Regions from separate parts of the Homo sapiens genome. Here region 1 is linked to region 2. The links are contacts of gene promoters, found by promoter capture Hi-C in blood cells and fetal thymus (Javierre and others, 2016). All regions are on one chromosome and are shown on one strand. The core of a region is centred on a gene start or on the middle of the fragment in contact, and the rest is flanking DNA. Distances in the headings are between cores, read along the strand shown. Region 1 overlaps RBFOX2 (RNA binding fox-1 homolog 2). Region 2 holds the start of APOL6 (apolipoprotein L6).

The links. The method cuts DNA at HindIII sites, captures the fragments that hold promoters and counts their contacts. A CHiCAGO score of 5 or more calls a contact.
Region 1: a contact is called between a fragment that was not itself captured here and the fragment with the promoter of APOL6 in region 2, in 5 of 17 cell types (M0 macrophages, M2 macrophages, M1 macrophages and 2 more). The highest score is 11.7, in M0 macrophages.

What each region holds. Positions count from the first base shown.
Region 1 is chr22:35,904,852-35,911,899 of GRCh38, reverse strand. The region is part of intron 2 of RBFOX2 (RNA binding fox-1 homolog 2); the gene reads left to right. Among named protein-coding and RNA genes, the nearest start is that of RBFOX2, 120 kb to the left of the region's middle. The HindIII fragment of the contact is 3,221 bases long and covers 3,924-7,048 here.
Region 2 is chr22:35,643,893-35,650,243 of GRCh38, reverse strand. APOL6 (apolipoprotein L6) reads right to left here and starts at 1,798. Exons shown (of 3, transcript NM_030641.4): 1 at 1,621-1,798. RefSeq lists an enhancer at 1,794-2,093. The HindIII fragment of the contact is 8,876 bases long and covers 663-6,351 here.

The DNA of each region.
Region 1 (7,048 bases), core at 4,285-6,784, 260 kb before region 2:
GGGTTAGGATTTGCTGGAGCAGTAAAAACAGGGTTCATTAAAAATTTTATCCAGAGTATGGAGTGGGGAAGGGCTGGGGTGAGATGGGATATGGGTCATGCCACTGCTAGTGAAAGGAAATTGAAAATGGCTCATTGGATTAGAATAAGGTACTTATACCTTCTAAAATTGTTGATGGAGTCATAGGCAGAGATTGGGAAGGGGAGATTCCACCAATTAGCATTTTAAGTGAGGAGTGTAACGATACCAGCAGCTAATGTAAACAACACCAATAATAACAACTTAATCCCTGAGATCACAATTTTTAGGAAAAATTTCTTACATTTATTTATATTTTGGCTCCCTTGATTAGCTTTCCTCTGATTAGAGAATGTGGTATCCTGTATATTAAAATACCTTTACTCTTGTTGGATTTTTAAAAGATGCAAAACTTTAAGATAAATCAGAGGTCGATTAAGACACCAGTAGGCCTTGTTGCCATTTCCATTTCCCATATGCATTGATTACTGTGTAGCAGTATTCCTGATGATTGTTGAATATTTATGAGGTTCTCTCCCAAAAAAGCCCACCAAGTGAAGAACTATCTTTCATTTTTTAAGTTCCTGAAAATTACCTAAAACTCTTCTGTAGGAGATGGCTTTTACAAAGAAGATTCTTTCCTTCTCCCTTCCCCCAACCCATAGTAGCTTAACTTAAGTACCTGGGGGAGATAAAGATAAATGTGGGAAACTTCAGGATGAAAGGGACATTATTAGAGACCAGAGAAGTCCCGGGAGGTCATATCAGGCTTAAAGTGGAAACTATGTTACAACCTAAGCAAGGAGCAACTGATAGGTCTATAAATAGGGTTTTATCTCCTCCTAGAAAATTTTTGTCATGGTTATAGCTTTCCATGTGGGGGACTATTATATTTACTAAAAATAAACCGTTTCAGAAATAATTAAAATAAGTCCCACTGAACTCATTTATGTTATTAAAAGTAAAGTCATAGCCTGAAAATAAGTTTATAGAGTTTGGCATGTACTAATTTTAAGGAACATTTTGATGCTGCAGCCATTGCTTATATATGGGATAGAATGGTAAAGCCCAAATGGATTTGTATGGATTAAAATAGATTACCTTCTCAGAAAATAATGTTATTTCAGTTTTTTTCCGCTAGTTCAGAAGACCCTCAACCTCCTTTGCATGCATTCAGACACATAAGTTGGCATTACAAATGAATCATCTAGGGAAGTGGGAGTACTTCTAATTCTCCAGGAATCTCACACAGTAAAGCTGCTTGGATATGGCTATTCAGAACAGAAAGGTATAGAAATGGACAATGGTATCCCTTCCATTGGTATTCCTTCTGGGCAACAAAAACCCTTAAGCTGTCTGAGTCTGTTTCTCACACTTCTGTTATCCTGATTGTAGCCCTTTAAATTGTGGAGCAAATTCTTGGCATCTGTCTGCCTGTCAGCTACCTATCTCTGACACCCCTGGATAGCTTGTTTTCTTCCTATGAGTATATGTGAAATTTGTAAAAAAGCATCTATTAATTTAAGTATCCTGTTAGAAGCCTGCGAAAATTCAAATTGGGCAAACAATAAAATTGCTTAAACCGTGTTTCTCAAAGTTAATTTGACCATAGAGTACTTTTCAAAATATAATGAATTGAATAACACAGCATCAGTATGACTCACGTACAATGTGTGTGTGGATTAAAGTCACCAGAAGTAGTGTTAAAAAGATGAATTAATGGCTTCAGGAAGTGACTTCATTGGCTTTTTTTCAAACTTTAAACATTTTGGAGAAGTTAAATCATTTTAAGTATAAAAGTTAAAGAGATTCAGTTATATTTTGTTTAAAGAGCAAAAAATCATGACTTTGTTGAAATTAAGTAAATATTTATGATTGTCAATCATCAAAATAGATTACATTTGTATTGTCTATGCCTTTGGGTACAGGTTAAAAATTATCTTCTTTTTCTGCCTAAAAAAGAAAGTAAGGCCCGGCACAGTGGCTCACGCCTATAATCCCAGCACTTTGGGAGGCCGAGGTGGGTGGATCACCTAAGGTCAGGAGTTGGAGACCAACCTGGCCAACATGGCGAAACCTGTCTCTACTAAAAATACAAAAACATTAACCGGGCATGGTGGCTTGTGCCTGTAATCCCAGCTACCCAGGAGGCTGAGGCAGGAGAATCGCTTGAATCCGGGAAGCGGAGGTTGCAGTGAGCCGAGATTGTGCCACTTCGCTCCAACAGGGGGACTCACATGTTACCCTTATTTCTCGAAGACATTGCTCGGAGACATTGCACTTTTCATGATAGATTGTTGCATACTAAGTAGAAACTATATTTGTATTTAGTATTTTTCTTTTGAATGAAGAAAAATATTGCTAGCGTTACTTTTAAAATTGTTGTATTACCTTTTGACAACTTGTAAAATGCTAAAACAGGGTTACATATTTCAGGTGTATCTGACTTCCTAATTACTTTAAGCCTTTTACTGCTGTTGTTCTTTTTCTCCCCTTACAACCTCTCAACTCCCTTCTTTCCACCCATACTTTAAAGAAGGAAACTGAAATTCCTGATGTAATGTATATTTTTTCATATATATATGTTTAAGAGACTGGGTTTTGCTATGTGGCTTAGGCTGGTCTCAAATTCCTGGCCCCAAGCGATCCTCTCACCTTGGCCTCTTGAGCAGCTGCAACAAGAAGCATGAGCCACTGCACCAAACCTGATAACAATGATTTTCTGAAAGATAGCGAGATGTGCTGGGCGCAGTGGCTCACTCCTGTAATTCCAGCACTTCGGGAGGCCGAGGTGGGCAGATCACGAGGTCAGGAGATCGAGACCATCCTGACTAACACAGTGAAACCCTGTCTATACTAAAAATACAAAAAATTAGCCAGGCGTGGTGGCGGGCGCCTGTAGTCCCAGCTACTTGGGAGGCTGAGGCAGGAGAATGGTGTGAACCTGGGAGGTGGAGGTTGCAGTGAGCTGAGATCATGCCACTGCACTCCAGCCTGGGTGACAGAGCGAGACTCCATCTCAAAAAAAAAAAAAAAATAGATGAGAAATTGGATGAAAGAGGCTTGGCAAGTTCACTGAATTCCTTGAGCCCCAAACCTAAGTTTCTGCCTATTTAATAGGTTTCATCTAGTATTTTTTATTTTGTGACTCATATTTACCAATTGGCTATTGTGGTGGTAATTGTAATGATAACAATAGTATATATTGCTCTGTTTACATAATAGCCTAACATACAGATGTTGAACCATCCACAACTTAGAATGGTTCTGCTTAACAGTTTTCTGACTTTACAATGGTACAAAAGCAATACACATTCAGTAGAAACCAATGTTCATTCAGTAGAAACCATCTGAGTACCCATTTTTTCACTTTTATTATAATATTCAGTAAATTACATGAGATATTCAACACTTTATTATAAAATAGGCATTGTGTTAAATGATTTTACCCAACTGTAACCTAATGTAAGTGTTCTGAGCATGTTTAAGATAGGCTAGGCTAAGCTATGATGTTTGGTAGGTTAGGTGTGTTAAATGCATTTTTGACTTACTATATTTTCAACTTATGATGAGTTTATAGGGACAAAATCCCATTGTAAGTTGAAGAACATTTGTTCTCTATTTGGGTTTGACAACATCCCTGTAATGTAGGCATTATTAACTCCATTTTGCAGGTGAAGAAACTGAGTGTATCCATATTTGACTGTTTCTCATTATACGAATTCAAGAATGGTTAAGTTAAAATTTTATTTCTATCATTTTGGTGTGGAATAGTTATGGATAGTAGATCAGAGTGATACACCAGTTGACTTCTTGGCCTAAACATTTGAAATAGACATTTCAAGATTCTTTGACAGTCTCTGTTTTGGTCATCAAATGTGCACACTGTTGATGTGCATAAAGCTTTCTGTTGTTTCAAGTGAAATTGAATTTTGGGTAGAGCACAGTGGCTCACACCTGTAATTCCAGCACTTTGGGAGGTCGAGGCAGGTAGATCTCTTAAGGTCAGAAGTTCGAGATCAGTCTGGCCGATGTGACAAAAACCCGTCTCCACTAAAAATACAAAAATTAGCTGGGCATGGTGGTGGGTACCTGTAATCCCAGCTACTTGGGAGGCTGAGCACAAGAATCTCTTGAATCCGGGAGGTGAAGGTTGCAGTGAGCTGGAGTCACGCCACTGCATTCCAGCCTGCGCGACGGAGCGACACTCTGTTTCAAAAAAAAAAATCGAGTTTTGATTTGTAAGTTAAAGTAAATAATTTATTATTGAAAACATTTAGGATTAAGTTCAGCTGCATATAACAATCTCCTCTTCCCCACACAGAATCTTAACAAGAGAGAGATTCATTTGTCTTTCATGAAAAAGAAGTCTGAAATTAGGCAGTCCAGGCTAATATGGCGCTGTCTGGTTACCAAGGATCTAAGATCCTTACTGCTGTTTACTTCTCTGACTGTAGGATGGGCCTAGATGATTCAGCCATCATTTCCCCCTTTCCACAAAGCAGTTTGAGAGGAAGAAAAGAGGGGTGTCCCCTCCCCTACCTAAGAAAACTTCCAGGAAGTTCCATGTAACATTTCTGCTTATATCTCATTAGTCGGAATTAGTCTTAGGGCCATATGTAGCTGTAGTGGAGGATGGAAGATGTAGTCCTTTTCTGGGGAAGCGTGTACAGTAATATGCTAAAATGAAAACTGGGGTTTTGTTACTAAGGAAGAAGAGAAGAGAGGATATTGGGAAGCCACTAACATTCTCAGCTCCAGGGCCTATCAGAGTGACCCAGCCTTATCTCCCACATGATACAGAAGACCATTCTGCGGCTTCCCTGGGAGATTTTCAACCAGTCTTTGCCATGTTTTCCAACAAGATGATTTTTTTCTTGAAATGTATATACTTTTATGCAAAGATTTTTTAAAAGCTAAATAATACAAGATTATGGTAAGGATCACTGCAGTTTCCATTTTAAGATCAAGTTTGAGTTTTTTTCCAAAATTGATTAGTTTGTTGGAAATGGAAATTCAAATGGTATAGAAAGTTTTTTGGTTTTTTGTTTGTTTGTTTGTTTGTTTGGGACAGAGTCTTGCTCTGTTGGCCAGGCTGGGATGCAGTGGCGTGATCTTGGCTCACTGCAGCCTCCACTTCCTGGGTTCAAGCAATTCTTGTGACTCAGCCACCCAAGTAGCTGGACTAACAGGTGTGTGCCACCACGCCCGGCTAATTTTTGTATTTTTAGTAGAGATGGGGTTTCACTCTGTTGGCCAGGCTGGCCTCCTGACCTGAAGAGATCTGCCTGCCTCAGCCCCAGAAAGTGCTGGGATTACAGACATGAGCCACTGTGCCAGGCCATAGAATGAGGTTTTAAGTAAGAATAAAGTATGTGTGAAATATTTAAATATCTGACCATTGGTAAAGGAAAAAGTGTGATTTTTTTTCTTTTGTTTTTTGAAGCCTGGGTAAGTCATTAGATTATACATTTCTTAGGGATAGAGAACTCACTTTTATAAAATGTATGATTATTGTATTTTGAATAAATAACATTTACATAAGTTAATATTTTAAAAGTAGAAAATGGTCATATCGTGAAAAGTTGCTCTCCCATTCCTGTCTTGAGTTCCCAGTGTCTTTCCCCTACAGGCACTGGGTGTTTTTTACTTCTTGTGTATAATTCCTCCTTTGATCTTTTCCTCCCATTTAAAAAACCACTGGTTTTAAAACCATTGCTAAACCTTTCTTTTTTCCACTTAATGACATATGCGGTATGCATGGCTTAATGATAAGGATACTTTTTGAGAAATGTGTCATTAGGTGACTTCATTGTGAAAACATCATAGAATGTACTTACACAAACCTAGATATATACCTGACTATATATTATATATGGTACAGCCTAATGCCTTTAGGCTGCAAACCAGTACAGCATGTTACTCTACTGATTACTGTAGGCAATTGTAACACAATGGCAAATATTTTCATATTTAAACATATCTAAGCATGGACAAGGCACAGTAAAAACATGGCATTATCATCTTACGGGACCACCATGACATATGTGTTCCATCATTGACTGAAACATTGCTATGCAGTGCATGACTCTATTAGAGTATTTCATAATGGTATTTTAAGAGCTTCCTCATCCCCCTCCCCCAAGGCTATACTGTTCAGTGTTTCACTGTATGGATAAGCCATAATTCATTAAACAGGAGAGTCATGTCTTACTTACATATCTATACCTGCTCTGTAAACGCATTCATTCATATTCAAGGGACTGAACTCTTGAATTTGTGCAGAATATTTCTCTTCTTCATGGCTGAGTATCCTAACCAGCTGAGAGGATTTTCCCTTCTTTAAAGACCAAGGTATTTAAGATTCAGTCATTTCAGAAATAAATCCTTCTAAATTGTGTTGTATAACTATAAAATTTATTTCTTCTTAACAGTAAAATAGTGGGCATTTTTAAATGGTTTTAACACAGGTATCAGCATCAGTATTGTTTAGGAATATAAAAGAGTAATATTTCAGGAGCTTTTGCTGGTTTTGCCTTACTAAGTGGCACCATTTTGACATATATCATCTATCTATTTTACCTGCTTTTTAGATTTTTTTTCTCTTCATCTTTCTTGTTTCCTATGTTGGCTGCCTCTAACATAATATTCCTTTTTCCTCTGGTACTTATTCCCCACTGCTTCCCAGTTCCTTTTCTTAATTTGCTTTGTAAATTTTTGGTGGACAATTAGCCAGATAACCAGGACAGAAATATTCCTAAAATAAAAATAAATAGATTCAGAGAGAAGGTCTGATGGAGTTTTCCTGCCGATGAAAATTTTGGAATGAATGTTTTGGAATTCTGGATACCTAGAGGGCCTTTTTGCTTCCTGGTTATTACCGTGTTCTAGGACAGCTCTGTCTAATAGACCTTTCTGTGATGATAGAAATGTTTTATGTCTGCCCTATCCATTATGATAGCCACTATCCTCACGTGGCTCTTGAGCACTTGACATGTGGCTAGTATTAAGTAACTGAAATTTTAATTTT
Region 2 (6,351 bases), core at 549-3,048:
AAGATAAAAACCTTCTCCCCTCTTTGGTATGTGAAGCTAGGTTTGGTTTAGGGGGCTTGGCACCTTTAAGAGTTTACTTTCACCAGACATACATCTACCTGCTTTACACAGTGACCCAGTGAGATCGGTGCTAAGATGATGCCCATTTTACAGAGGTGCAAACTGAGACATAGGGAGGCCAGTGTCACACAGTAAGCAGGAAAGCCTGTGCAATTCCAGCCACGCAGAGTCTGGAGTAGTTGGTCCCAAACAGGGCGTGTTTGCTCCTCAGGGACACTGCTAATATCTGGAAACATTTTTGATGGTCTCAGCTGGAGAGGGTACTGCTGTTGGTATGTAGAGGGCAGAGGCCAGGGATGCTGCCAAGCACCCTACGATGCAGAGGACAGCCCCCACAACCAGGGATCACCTGGTTGAACATGACAAGGTTGCTGGGGGTAAGAGACTCTGGTCTGGAACCCCATTTTTTACCAGCGTCCGCCAATACCTCTCTCATTTTTTTACATTAGTCCTATGGGATGCAGGGCAAAGGTAACAGCAGGAAACTCATCTAAGCAGGTCCCATTCCATCCCCTCTGACCTGCTCTTGGTGGTTGCGAGAGGATTTGCTTGTGAGAGGTTTATTGGAAGAGGATTTGAGAACTTACTTTCATTTGAAAGCTTACAGGATATTTATGACAGTCTTTCCTTACCTGCCTTCCCCCACAAAACCAACTTCTGCAGATACACAATCTAAGTAAGAAAAATCTGCTTACTTTGAAAACACAGCTTCAAGATAACCTCCCTAGATTTTTTTTTTTTTTTTTGAGACCGGGTCTCACTCTGTTGCCCAGGCTGGAGTGCAGTGGTGCGATCACTGCTCACTGCATTCTTGACTTCCTGGGTTCAAGTGATCCTTCCACCTCAGCACCCTCCCAAGTAGCTGGGACTACAGGTGTGCACCATCACGCCCAGCTATTTTTTGATTTTTTGTAGAGACGGGGTCTCACTATGTTGCCCATGCTGGTCTCAAACTCTTGGGCTCAAGCAATCCGCTTGCCTTAGCCTCCCAAAATGCTGGGATTACAGGCATGAGCCACTGCGCCTGGCCTAGTCGCCCTAATATTTATCACAAACTCCCTCACCCTCTTCCCCAAACAACTTCACATAAATCTACAATCTAGAAAACTCTGTAGGTTGGCTTTGCAGTTTCTAGACAACTCACCCAGCACCTTTTTTCTTGTGAGATGACACCCCTAAACCACTCCTCTACTGAATTTCTAGGGAAACGCCTGTGGCTGATGTAATCATCTGCTTTCTAAGGGCCAGGTCCCCTCTGCCTAAGCCCTCGGATCCCCAGCAGTGGAGGGACAAATGCAACTTGGCTAGTCACATCGCATGCTTTAGCATGTTTCAATTTAACCCTGAAATGGCTGTAAGGGAGGGAAACCTACCAGGATTAACACAGGAGAAGTTAATCCTCAGACTCTCCTCAAGCTCTGGCTGGCATTTGAACCCCGCTGCTTTCACAGCAGCTCTTTTCCCTGAGTCAGGTGCCTAAAGCCAACCCCTTGGGGGCTCTGTCCTTCAGGGACCAGAGCGGCAGCCCCCTCCTCCCCCGACTTCTGCCCGCCGTCTCACCTTCTCTCCACGGAGCTCTCCTTTGTGGCCTTGGGTCCCGAGGGAGAGGAAGATCCTGAACCTCTGTCCTTGCCTCTCCGAGGTCCCCTGGTCTGGCAGGGGGCTGTGAGTGTCTGGGCTGGAGAAAGACGGATAGGAAGAGTAGGGTGGCCTTTGAACAGGAATTGATTGCAAAACTGGTTTCGGTTAAGTGCTGCAGGAGAGAAAAAGCAAAGCTCTAGGGCTCTTCCAGGAAATCATGGGCTCCAGCTGTCACTTTCAGTTTCCTTTTTGCCAGTTTCTCTAATTGGATGAACAAGGAGGTGAAAGAGCAGAATCCAAGTCAGGAGGCCTGAGTCTCTCGTCTCTGTCCTGGCTGTGTTATAGGATGGACCTATATGGGGTATGAAAATAGCTCCTGTGGCTTAGAGCTATGGTGAGGAGCCCATGAGCAAGCGATGGGGCGCCTGTTGAATAGTGGATTCACAGTAGCTGTCATCACTGATTGTTCTGAAACTGCTTTCCTCCACAGCATCTTACGTGACGCTGATGTGGGTAACAACCCTATGAGGTGCACAGCATTAAAGGGCTAATAACTCTGAATGCAGAATCCTCTGAAAATGGAAACTTTATTTTATTATTATTATTATTATTGTTTTTTGAGATGAAGTCTCGCTCTGTTGCCCAGGCTGGAGTGCAATGGCACGATCTCGGCTCACTGCAACCTCCGCCTCCTACGTTCAAGCTATTCCCCTGTCTCAGCCTCCCTAGTAGCTGAGATTACAGGCACCTGCCACCACGCCCGGCTGATTTTTGTATTTTTAGTAGAGATGGGGTTTTGCCATGTTGGCCAGGCTGGTCTCAAACTGCTGACCTCAAATGATCCATCCATCTAGGCCTCCCAAAGTGCTGGGATTACAGGCGTGAGCCACCGCACCTGGCCTCAGAATGAAAACTTAAAAAAAAATGATAATTTATTCATTTAGTGGCAAAACCTGACCTGATCTGGCATGAATTCACCTGTGGTTTTTATGTCTCCTGCTTAATTTGAATATTTACAGTCACTGCAGAAATATTAATATGTTTGACTGAGGAGGGCTGCTGCGGGTGCGTGGGTTACATAGTACACGATACCTGCACCCCATTACCTTTCTAAAAATCCCCCAAATCAGGAACTCTGACATGCATCTGGCCTCAAGGATTGGAGATATAGGATTGTGATACTCTGTCTCCCACTTTAAGGAAGAGGAAACCCAGGCTTCTAGAAGTTGTGGGTTGTTTGTGATTACACAGCTAAGAACCAGTCCTAGGCTCTGTGTCTACAAGAATGAGCCCACAGTGAGGTTACGGGCTGAGATCTGTGTCTCTCTAGCATTTGTGTCAAATTGTGATCAGAAGCCATGTGGTTTGTTTGTATTTATATGCCCAGAAGTCCCCAGTCACCACCCCTAGCTGAGACCACATTGGAGGCTGTTGCTTTGCAGAAGGTGCGGCCCACCTAGCCAGTCCTGGCTTTGCTGTGATAGAGGCCACCTCCTGTCCCTGGGCCCTACGAGCAGGAATGAGGGGTTAAGGGCTGCTGAGTTGGGTCTTGTAGGGGCCTTTCCAACCGTGGCATCCCGGATTCCACAACCCACCCCTGCTCCTGGCCTCCCACACTTGGGGAACACGCTAAACACAGCCTGACCTTGAGGAGGACTTGGCTGCCTGGCTGGGGCCGCTGAGCCATCCCAGGCCTGCCTGTTGTTTTCCCTGGCAACGGACCCAGATGTTGTGGTCACTGCTCGGTCCTGGGAGTCTCAGGGGCCAGACCGGCCATTGGATGGGGGCAGTGTTTACCACCAGGGCTCTTGTGAAACAATCGCCCCAAGAGATGCCATGTGAGAAAAATGTTCTGTAGCCAAATGCAGGAAGTGCTGCTTATGTAAGGGGACAGAAAACATCCACCCTATAGCTCAGATGAACAAAAGTAGGGAGTCGCTTAATTTCCTAGAGTCCACTTCCCTTCCCTCAAGGGACCCAAGACCTGCTGAAAAGAAACAAACTTGCCTGAAGGCCCCTTAGTCTCTTGTGATTTAAAACACACTCTCGGACCGGGCGCGGTGGCTCACGCCTGTAATGCCAGCACTTTGGGAGGCTGAGGCAGGTGGATCGCTTGAGGTCAGGAGTTTGAGGCCAGCCTGACCAACATGGTGAAACCCTGTCTCTACTAAAAATACAAAAATTAGCTATGTGTGGTGGCGGGCACCTGTAATCCCAGCTACTCGGGAGGCTGAGGCAGGAGAATCGCTTGAACCTGGGAGGTGGAGGTTGCAGTGAGCCGAGATTGTGCCACTGCACTCCAGCCTGGGCGACAGAGCGAGACTCTGTCTCAAAAAAACAAACAAACAAACACACACACACACACACACACACACACATCTTTGGGTAAAGTCTCTCATTTGGGGGTGAATGTTCAGGCAATTTAAGTTCAAATTTTCTATCAGGGCTTTTTATGTTTTCTGAAAAGTTTGCCTCTCATTGAGGCTGCAGTGAGCTGAGATTGCACCACTGCACTCCAGTCTGGGTGACAGAGCAAGACCCTGTCTCAAAAAAAAAAAAAAAAAAAAAGAAAGAAATTTGCATGCCTCGGAGATGGCACCTGGGGGCAGGGGCTTGTGCTGGCCCTCTGGGGTTCCACTGGCCCACAAAGAGGGTCCTTTGTGACCCTTCCAGCAGGCATTGCTGGCTCCTGGACACCTGGGTTCTGGTTTGCCTTGGCACCTCTCTGAGGAGCTGCAGGTTTTCTGTGTTGCAGCCACAACCAACCCACTCTGGGCTCAGGCTGTCTGCCTCCCAGAGAGCTCATCACGCCTCGGCCCAGTGGCCCCTGGCACAGGCAGGGACCATCCGTCCTGGGATGGGGGAAAGGCCTTGAAGCACACTTTGACCCTGAAATTCTTGGATTCTAGAAATTTCTTTTCTTCTCTCTGGCTACAGCATTTAGGGAGAGTTTGAACCTAGGAGGCGGAGGTTGCCTAGAGTTTGAGCAAATGCTGCCCTGAGACTGCAATTTGCCAAATGTAGCAAAAGTTCTATCGTGGCCTCCATTGCTTTGCCTGGAAGCAGTTTCAGGATCCTGGGAGCCCAGGCCAGAGCGAAGCAGGGAAGCAGCCATTACAAGGGGAGAGTGGAGCACTGAACTTGAACCCAGGACCACCAAAAGGGCCAGGCCTCGCATGGCCACACCCTTGTTGCTTGGCGTACAGCAACTAACCCTCACCCACTTCCATCCCATCTCCTTCCCGGGGTTCTTGTGAGGAAGGTTTTTGTTCGTTTGTTTTTTGTTTTGTTTTGTTTTTTTGAGACAGTCTCGCTCTGTCGCCCAGGCTGGAGTGCAGTGGTGCGATCTCGGCTCACTGCAACCTCTGCCTCCTAGGTTCAAGCAATTCTCCTGTCTCAGTCTCCAAGTAGCTGGGATTACAGGCATGTGCTAATACGCCTGGCTAATTTTTGTATTTTCAGTAGAGATGGGGTTTTGCCATGTTGGCCAGGCTGGTCTTGAACTCCTGACCTCAGGTGATTCACCCGCCTTGGCCTCCCAAAGTTCTGGGATTATAGGTGTTAGCTATCATGCCCAGCGGAATGAGTTATCTTGACAATGGTAAAGGTTGATGCACGCACCAGGTGCTCTGGCCATCATTACCATTTTTGTATACACAGGACTCATCTTTTTTTTTTTTTTTTTTTTTTTGAGACAACGTTTCACTCTTGTTGCCCAGGCTGGAGTGCAATGGCACGATATCGGCTCAGTGCAACATCCGCCTCCCTGGTTCAAGCGATTCTCCTGCCTCAGCCTCCTGAGTAGCTGGGATTACAGGCGCCCACCACCACCCCCGGCTATTTTTTTTGTATATTTAGTAGAGACGGGGTTTCACCATGTTGACCAGGCTGGTCTTGAACTTCTGACCTCAGGTGATCCACCCGCCTCGGCCTCCGAAAGTGCTGGGATTACAGGCATGAGTCACCGCGCCCAGCCCCAAGGATTCATCTTTCATGAGAGATCTGAGAGAGCGAGAGAGGGGATGTCTCTTTCTTTCTACCCTGGATTAAAAATGAAGATGTCTGGCATCCTGGGTTGGAGGGATGGGAACTTCCATGTGCAGAATGTTACATGTGGAGCACGTGCTCGGAATATTTCACTCATCATCGCATTTTATCCATATGCTCCTTCTATGAAGCAGGGAGCACAAGCCCAATATATAGCTGCCAAGACTGATGTTCATGGGTCCAAGGACCTCATCCAAGATCACAGTGTCTGACATGACTAGGGTTAGGCGTAGAACCCAAATGTGTCTACCTCCAGTTCTTTGCACTAAAACACATCACAGAAGTCCACATCTCTGCTCTGTGGCTGAATGATCAGTGAGTTTGCAAACTGCTCTCCTTGTGGTAGCCTGGCCAGGGGTGGGGTGGAGGTGGGCAGGGGCTGGAACAGGAGGTACAGGTTGTGCAAGAGGCAAGGTTAGTTGGCATTTTGGTTAGCAGGTTGCAAGTGACACATCATCTTGGAGCAGTGTAAGCAAAAACAAGGAAGCCATTTATCCAGCTTGGTTGTTCTTATACTGCAAGTCACAATTTACAGTGTCATGAAATCAGCTTAGTGGGTCTCAAGAAATAATAAAGGGAAATGAGGTTGGACATGGTGGCTCATGCCTGTAATCCCAGCATTTTAGGAGGCTGAGGCTGGAGGATTGCCTGAGCCTAGGAGTC